Linked DNA regions of Homo sapiens: regions 1 and 2 are each linked to region 3. The links are contacts of gene promoters, found by promoter capture Hi-C in blood cells and fetal thymus (Javierre and others, 2016). All regions are on one chromosome and are shown on one strand. The core of a region is centred on a gene start or on the middle of the fragment in contact, and the rest is flanking DNA. Distances in the headings are between cores, read along the strand shown. Region 1 has its middle 69 kb from the start of IL1R2. Region 2 has its middle 62 kb from the start of IL1R1. Region 3 holds the start of IL1RL2 (interleukin 1 receptor like 2).

Evidence for each region. The method cuts DNA at HindIII sites, captures the fragments that hold promoters and counts their contacts. A CHiCAGO score of 5 or more calls a contact.
Region 1: a fragment that was not itself captured here is called in contact with the fragment with the promoter of IL1RL2 in region 3 in 1 of 17 cell types (activated CD4 T cells); the score reaches 5.9 in activated CD4 T cells.
Region 2: a contact is called between a fragment that was not itself captured here and the fragment with the promoter of IL1RL2 in region 3, in 2 of 17 cell types (activated CD4 T cells and M2 macrophages). The highest score is 6.8, in activated CD4 T cells.

What each region holds. Positions count from the first base shown.
Region 1 is chr2:102,059,341-102,062,494 of GRCh38, reverse strand. No RefSeq gene overlaps it. Among named protein-coding and RNA genes, the nearest start is that of IL1R2, 69 kb to the right of the region's middle. The HindIII fragment of the contact is 2,113 bases long and covers 279-2,391 here.
Region 2 is chr2:102,079,123-102,081,852 of GRCh38, reverse strand. It overlaps a transcript of IL1R1 not described here. Among named protein-coding and RNA genes, the nearest start is that of IL1R1, 62 kb to the left of the region's middle. The HindIII fragment of the contact is 5,005 bases long and covers 1-2,730 here.
Region 3 is chr2:102,185,735-102,188,488 of GRCh38, reverse strand. It overlaps IL1RL2 (interleukin 1 receptor like 2), which reads right to left and starts at 1,466. Exons shown (of 12, transcript NM_003854.4): 1 at 1,403-1,466; 2 at 564-633. The coding sequence starts at 621. RefSeq lists an enhancer at 1,281-1,810. The HindIII fragment of the contact is 3,870 bases long and covers 1-2,098 here.

The sequences.
Region 1 (3,154 bases), core at 86-2,585, 130 kb after region 3:
AAGAAGTGAGATGTGTCTGTTCTGTAAAGATGAGTCAGGAGTAGTCAAGAAGCAGGAGAATTGTCAACTCTGACACACCAGAAATGACACTCAGCAGGGCTTAGCAACCATGGTCTCTTCTCTGAACCCATGAAGTGAAGTGGAAACTGGAGGGGTGTCAGCCAAGTTACAAAGGAATGGCTGAAGCTGGGAGGCCCCACAGGAAAGAAAACGCTGGAAAAATAGAAGCTTCTGGCCCCAGTGTTCTCACGCATGACCATAATAATTAAAAAGAAGCTTTGGCAGCCACCCCAGAGCAAGCTCATGAGGAGAGATGGGTCACAGAGCTGACCAGCAGTTCTGGAGTGAGGGTGGCCCTGGAGAAGCTGAAGTCCCAGGGGACGCCTGCATCTGCATGGCAGGAACCAAGTCTGTCAGTGATTCTCCTCTCCCTCGAAACCATCACTGCAAGATCCCGCTCTGCCATTTACTAGCTGTGTGACTTTAGGCAAGTTACTCAACCTTTCTGAGCCTCAATAAATGGTAGCTAATATTATTGTTTATTGTTATTAAAAGCAGTTAAATCTTTATAGGGTCATGTAACGCACAGCCATAATCAGGTAGCACTGGGAGAGGCAAACATTTCTAAAATAGTAAATATTTTAGACACTGTAGGCCAAGAAGCATATTTCATATGTTATATATACATAAAATATATATGATATATGTGTGTGTATTTATATAATGTAGATACTTCTATAACAAGAGAGAAACCTCTGCATGCCTGGCCCTATCTGCCTGGGGTGGGCTTCCTGTGGGCAGGCACAGTGTGCCCTGAACCCACTGGAGACGGTCCTGGGAAGAAGGGCAGCCTGATGGAGGGAGGGGCCTGGCAAGCCAGCTCAGTGGGCTTAGGGAGTTGAAGGGGACTTGGCCACCACGGTCATTTTCTCTCTTTGCCCCAGGGACAACCAAACCAGCTCCTCCTGGAGATCCCGGCCCCCTCCCTCTGGACAGCTGAACGGAAGTGAAGCTAACACGTCACCAATTCCCAGACTTAGATTCTGCAGCCTGGCGCCCCGCATTGCAACAGCAGAGCCCCCATGCTGTAGGAGTGACCAGCATGGGCCCTGTGTGGCAGGAAGGTGAGTCCTCTGGCAGGGGAGGCAGGTGCTGGAAGCCAAGTAGGGGACAGGGACAGATGGAACCACCTCAGCTTGGGTCCTGCAGCTCACAGCGCTTGCAGAGTGTCCCTGAGCCATACAGAAGTAGGTGACCACCCACAGTTTGTCAGTGGGTCATAGTTTGCTGACCTTAGATGTAGCAAAAGAGACCTAAATGTGACCCCAGTGTGGTTGCAGGGAGTAACCAGTGAGCACACCCGTGCCAGCGTTCTCCAGAGCACAACCCATTAAGGGATCACAAAAGCACGTCAGTGGCTCACCACCAGCATCTTTTTAATGAAACAAAGAGAATGGATTCTCTCCAGGTTTTTTATGGCATTCATATGGATAAGCATATATGCTCTGGGCACCATGCCAAATGTACTTCTTACTGAGGACTGGGTGCTAGGCACAGTTTTTGGCTTCTGTATCCCTCAAAAGAGGTGTTTTCATCTATTTTTCAAACATTCGTGGGGCATCTGCCTTGAAAGTTTAAGAATAAGCTCCTTGAGGAACAGGGTCAAGTCCCAGCTTTCCATTAACTCTGAAACCTACCACCTTGGCACATGGGCAGGAAGTGAAGGGAAGACAAGGGAGTTTGCTGGCTTCTGAGACAAATGTATATTCCTGGGAGGACCCTGGAGAAGTGAAGATCTTTGGTAGTACCTCTGGATGCATCTCACACTTATCATCCCACCAGAAGATCTTAGAGGCCTCCAGTCTGGAGGTTTCCAGACTGTGCTCTGAGGAGGCCCAGGGTTCCGCAATGTGCTTCAGGGGTGCCCAGGGAAAGAGGTTCTTGCTTTCCTCTTCTAACTTCAACTGGAGCAGCTTTGCACTTTTTTATGTATGTTTTAAGGTGACATGTAAATTTCTTCTGTCCAAAGGGCTCCAATTCCAGAGCATTGAACAATCAAAAGGCCTGAAAACTATCTATTTTATTCAACTAATTTAAACCTAGGAAAACCTCAAATACCCAAGAAAAGTCAGCAGTGGATAGGGAGACTGGCCCTCAGACCTCTGCTCCCCACCCTGTTCAGCAGTCCTTTCACCACACTCCGCTGCAGCCCTGCTGAGTCCAATTCTGCTCTGGGAGCAATTCCCAGTGGACACGTGGCAGTCCAACAAGACAGTGTTATAACAGCAGGCTCCAAATCAAAGGAAAAGCAGAAGACAACACACACTGTTTTAAATATCATAGAGAGACCATCCCTGAAGTTGTTTATCGTGATTCAGACATGGACAAGCTTTGGGATCTTGGACAAGTCACTTCACATCTCTGGACTTTGTTTCTGCAGTCCTCTCTGGCCCTCCGTTCTGAGTCCCCATGGATAGAACTGATCATCACTAGAGAGAAAGGAGAGCCACAGACCTAATCTCCCAGGTGTCAGTTATTAACTCCACCAGTATAACATGCCCTCTGAGGAGTGGTGGCAGTGGCCATCTGCAGTCCACCTCCGCAGCAAGATGAAGCCTCCTGGAGAAGCCATGGAGGTGGAGAGAGATTCAGGCTCCTAACTCGGCCCAGCCCTGCACAAACACAGGGAAACTGCACCTGGGATTGAAAGCATTAATTTAGAATTTCGTTGTCCTGGGCATTCCAGCAACTCTGTGATTCTCTATTAGAGTTGAAGACACTGAGGCTCTGAGAGGTCACATAATTGTCCAAAGGGTGTAAGGGTACGATGAGAGGGGACAGAGAGAGAGAGAGATAGAGACAGCATGCACTTGAGGTTTGAGACCCTCGAGGTGGAAGGACATGTCAGCTTTAACTTGTTGACTGTCTTCTGTGACAAGAACTTTACATACTTTATCTCATTAAATCCTCACAATAGCCATGCAATGTAGGTGTCAAAAACCCATATTACAAAAGAGTAAAATGAAGTTGAGACAGGTCAGAGTGATTCCAGGCACACAGCTGTTGGATGACAGCACTGGTCTTCTCACTTGCTTTTTCTGATTCCCAAATCTTTGATCTTCCCACTCTCTTGGGATGCCTCAAGGCTGTGTGG
Region 2 (2,730 bases), core at 54-2,553, 110 kb after region 3:
TGACTGGGTAGTTCATCTCACAGCCACCAACGTAATCAAGAGAGGAAGCCACTGGAGTTGCTCAACCATTAAGCCCAAATCCACTATCAAACTGAAGCCATTAGGACTTCCAGTGTAGCCTGCAACACATGTGTTTCTCTGATATTCAGATGAGAATCAAGTCGCCATTCAGGCCTAATTCGCCTTCGCCTTCTAAACAGGGTGGGGGCAAATCCCCTAGCCCTTTTCTTTGTCAGGAAGCTGGATATTCACTGATAGATGGGGTGCTTTTCAAACCACTGACCCCAGGACAGGGAAGGAGCTGTTATTTCCTGTCCCTTGTACAGTTAGTCTAACTCAATCCTCATTCGTACTCTAGAATGAAAACTTGATCATTTGTAGAGCAATGCCTGAAACCACCGTGGAGCCAGGCTGGTAGATGCCCTGGTACATTGCAGGTTGGAAGATTATTTCCATGGATCTTGGGAGAGCACCAGATGCAGGCCATTGGGTGTGGTTCAAACTCTTCCATCCCAGGCTCCCTTAGCTGGTTGTAACTAATTCAGCATATTTCTGCAGGATTTGCAAAAATCTCTACAGTTAGAAATAGATACTCTCATATATTCTTATTTTAATGAGAATTTTATTGAGATGTCATTCACACAGCATAAAATTACCCTTTTAAAAGTGTACAATTCAAAGGGTTTCAGTATATTCATAGAGTTGCGCACCCATCACCACTATCCAATTTCAGAGCATTTTCATCACCCCCAAAAGAAACTTCATACTCATTAGCAATCACTCTTCGTTCCCCTTTCTTCTAGCCCCTGGCAATCTATATACTACTTTCTGATTCTATAAATTTGCTTATTCTAAGCATTCCATATAAATGGAATTATACAATGTGTGGGCTTCTGTAACTAGCTCCTCTCACTTAGCATAATGCTTTCAAGGTTCCTCTATGTTGTACTGTGTATAGGTAGTACTTCACTCCTTTCCATGGCTGAATAATATTCCGTTGTTTGGATATACTGCATATTGTTAATCCATTCATCCATTAATGGACATTTGGGTTGTTTCTATGTTTTGGCTATTTTGAATAATGTTGCTATGAAAATTGGTGTACAGATTTTTGTGTTGTTAATTATGTCACATAGATACCTAGGAGTGGAATTGCTGAGTCATATGGCAACTCTATGTTGAACATTTCAAAGAACCACAAACTATTTTAAAAGTAGCTGTACCATCTTACATTCCTTCCAGTAATAAATGAGTGTACCAGTTTCTCTATGTCCTCACTAACATTTATTATTTCTGGCCTCTTTCATCCCGTCATTCTAGTGGATGGCATCTTAGTATGTTTTGCTTTGCGTTTGCTAATGACCAGTAATGTCGAGCATCTTTTAATGTGCTTAGCAACCCTTTATCTATCTTCTTCAGCGAAATGTCCATTCAAATCTTTTGCTCACTTTTTAATTGGGTTGTCTTTTTATTGTTAATTTATCAGAGATTTGTGCATATTATGGATACAAGTTCATTATCAGATAATTTGCCAATATTTTATCCCACTCCATGAGCTATATTTTCACTTTCTTAAGAGAGTACTTTAAAACATGAAAGGATTTAATTTTGGTGAAGTGCAATTATCTATTTTGTTGTTGCTTGTGCTCTGGCGCTGTATACTTAAGGAAGCATTGCCCAATTCAAGGTCACAAAGATTTATATTTATATTTCCTTCTAAGAGTTTTGCAGTTCTAGATCATACGTTTAGTTCTATGATTGCTTTTTGAGTAAATTTTTGTGTACAGTATGAGATAGAGATGCAAATTTTTTCTTCACATGTGGATATCCAGATGTCCCATCACCTTTTATTAAGAAGATTATTCTTTCCCCCACTGAATTGCTGGCATCTTTCTTGGAACCAATTGACCATAAACGTAAGGGCATATTTCTGAATTCTTAATTCTATTTTTATTGATTTTTATATTTATACTCTGAGAACATCCTACTGTCTTGGATACCGTTGCTTTGTAGTAAGTTTTAAAATGGGAGTGTAAGTCATTGACTTTGTTATTTTTCAAGATTGTTTTGGATATTCTCCATCCTTTGCATTTCCTTGTGTATTTTATGAGCAGTTTCTCAATTTCTGCAATAAAGGCAATTTGGATATTCATAAGGATTGTGATAAATCTGGGATACATTTGGGGAGTACTGCCATCTTTAAAAAAGTTAAGTCTTCTGATTCATGAACATGGGATGTCTTTCAATTAATTGAGCGATTTTAAAATTACTTTCAATAATATTTTATACTTTTAGTGTACAAGTCTTATACTTCTTTTCTTAAGTTTATGCTATTTTATTCTTTTTGAAGCTATTGTAAGTAGAATTGTTTTCTTAATTTCATTTTCAAATTTTTCATTGCTAATATATAAAAATACAATTAATTTTCATATATTGATTTTGTATCTTGCAAACTTACTGAGCTTGTTTAGTAGTCTAATAGTTTTTAGTGGATTCCTTAGAATGTTCTATATACAAGACCAGGTCATTTGAGAATAGAGCTGGTTTTTTCCAATATGAATTTTATTTCTTCTTGCCAAATTTCCCTAGCTAGCATTCTTAGTACAATGTTGAATAGAAGTGGTAGGATTAAACATCCTTCTCTTCTTCCTGATCACAGAGGGAAAGCTACTGGTCTTTGATCATTAAGTATAATGTTAGCTGTGGGGTTTTTTGGATGCCCATTATCAG
Region 3 (2,754 bases), core at 217-2,716:
AGCCTCTTGAGTAGCTGGGACTACAGGCGCCCGCCACCGCGCCCGGCTAATTTTTTTAATGTATTTTTAGTAGAGACGGGGTTTCACCGTGTTAGCCAGGATGGTCTAGATCTCCTGACCTCGTGATCCGCCCGCCTTGGCCTCCCAAAGTACTGGGATTACAGGCATGAGCCACTGCGCCCGGCCATACCAAATTTCTTAGAAGAAATTTGTTCTATTGACGGTTTCCTTGCTTTCACCTTGTGTCATAAAATAACGCTTTATCTTATAAAATAGCCTGTAGTAATTCCATTTGAGCATTGTTACTCAAGTCTTCACTTGGAATTTGCCTAACTCCTTCCCCTCCCCGAAGTCACCTCCAAGCTCAAAGGCGACATTCAGGGCTGAGCATCCGAGCACGTGGAGCTGGTTCTCTGTTTCCTCTTCCGCGGAACTCCGCCTGGCGGTCTGGGGAGGGGAAGGAGCCGCGCTCGGGCTGACGCGATCCCCGGGGGCTCCCAATGACAGGCCAGGAGCCTGTGGACTCGGGCAGCCTCTGGGAACGGAGGACACACGGAACGTACCTGCTGTGACAGACAGTGGAAGGGCGATGGACAACCCGCAGAGCAGCAAGGACCACATCCCCAAACCGGGCTGCAAGGAAGGGAGAAGAGGGTGGGAGGGGAGGACGCAGTAGGGCGGGCCCGAGGCGCCGGCGTGGGCGACCTCGGAATCTCAAAGACAACCGCCCAGGCCGCTGACCTTCCCTTTTTCCTGGGGAGCCCTCCGACTTTGGCCCCACGTTTCCCCAAAGACTGCCCTTCCCCTGTCTCCTTCGTCTGGGCGCCCGACCAGGATCCAGGGCAGGGAGCTCGCCCCGCCGCAGAGGAGGATGGGCGAGGAGTAGGCGGCGGCGGCGGTGGGGACCGCGTGGGAGCTGCTTCTGCCACCTGACAGCGAAGCAGGCTGGTGTCCAGAGCCCCCGTGAGGGCCAGGGCGCCCCCCAGCGCAGCCTGCGGCCTGGGTTCCAGACGTGGGACCCCAACCCCGCTCGCGGCGCACGGAGCCTCCCCTGCGCGCCTGTGTCCTCGGGATCCACCCGAGCCTGGCGGTCTAAACAGAAACCCCAAACACCCGCTCACTGGGGAGCAGCCAGGGCAGGCCTACCTGGCAAGGGCCAGCGGGAAAGGAGAAAGGAAGGCAGGGAGCCGCTGGAGCTGAAAATAGCCGCGAGCTCCACTCCTCGACCCAGAGACGGAGTCGGCTCCCCCATGGTCACCTAGCCGGTCGGGGGCCGGCCTGGGGGGCCTGATCCCTGGCCTGCGGTGGCACACATTGTTGCCACGTCTTTTCCTGCACACCTCTCCTACTGTCAGGGCCCCACCCATGCCTGGCTCAGCCAGACTCCCGGCCCGGTGTCTACCTGCCTGCAGGATTGAAGCGCGCAGGACCTCGTGGAGAGTGGAAAATATGACAGGGACACGAGCCCTGTCATGCCACTTCCATGCCTAGGTATTTCCCCGCCACCGTGGGCGGGGCAGACCTGCCTTCCCCAGTGGAGCGTAGGAAGGAATGTGACATCACACTAGGAAGTGGCTTGAAAGTCTTTGAGCCTGATTTTCTGGCATCTAAGTCCTTCATCACCAGGAGTGTCTGCTTAAGTCTATTCCAAGTTGAACGTCTAAATGAATTATTCATTCCTTTCCAAATCCTATTTGAGCAGTTACTGCATGCTCTGCATTGGCCTATGTGGAATGACCCCAAAGTGGAAGCCATCCCAAATGGCTTCTAAGGAGAATTATGAATCTGCCTGAGTCGTGCTCATTAACTTCTGTAAGGCAGGAATCCCATGGTGTTCAAGTACTTCAGAGCCTGAAGACTGTTCCTGTCTAAAACTTCCCGATAAGGTGATGTCAACAGGGACCTGTTGCCCTAGCCATCAGGAGACACCCCAGAGTCATCCCACAGGGCACTGAGTTGTAGGAAAAGGTTCAAAATGTAATCTCCATTCAATAGATTACTGGTCAAGCTCTTCCCAACGGTCTTTGAAAGATCAGAGACAGTGAGACAAAAGCAACCATAGGAGCAGAGATGCAATAATTGTGCTAATAGCAAAGCTTCCTGTGATAGGCTGAAGGTCAGTGGTTTGTAGATTTCTACACTCTTAAAAAGTATTGAGGATTCCAAAGTGCTTTTGTCTATGTAGGTTATGCCTGTCAATATTACTACATTAGAAGTTAAAGGGAGAATTTTTAAACGTTTACTTTCTTATTTAAGTGACAATAAACCCATTACATGTTAACGCAAATATCATACAATTTATGAAAAATAACTCTACTTTCTAAAACAGGCTTATTGAGAAAAGCGGCATTGTTCTACATAGATGCAGATCTCTTTGATGTCTGGCTTACTAGAAGATGACTGGATTCTCATACTTGCTTCTGCAATCAGTGTCATGATATAATATGTCATATAGCTTCTGAAAAGGTCCACCATACACTAATGAGAGAATGAGAATAAAAAAGGAATATAAGGTCTTAATATTACGATGAACATAGTTTTGATTTCACAGATCTTTTTGAAGGGTCTCTCAGGGACCCATAGGGCTCCCACTCTTTGAGGACCTCTTTCTTAAGCTATAAATAGAGATTATTATTTATTTCCCCTACTATCAGCAGTAAACGAGGTTCCTCTGTATATGTATATTCTTCAGCGTTTATGTCCTCATCCAAAACAAAACAAAAGTGTTACTATTTTTATAAAAGTCATATGATT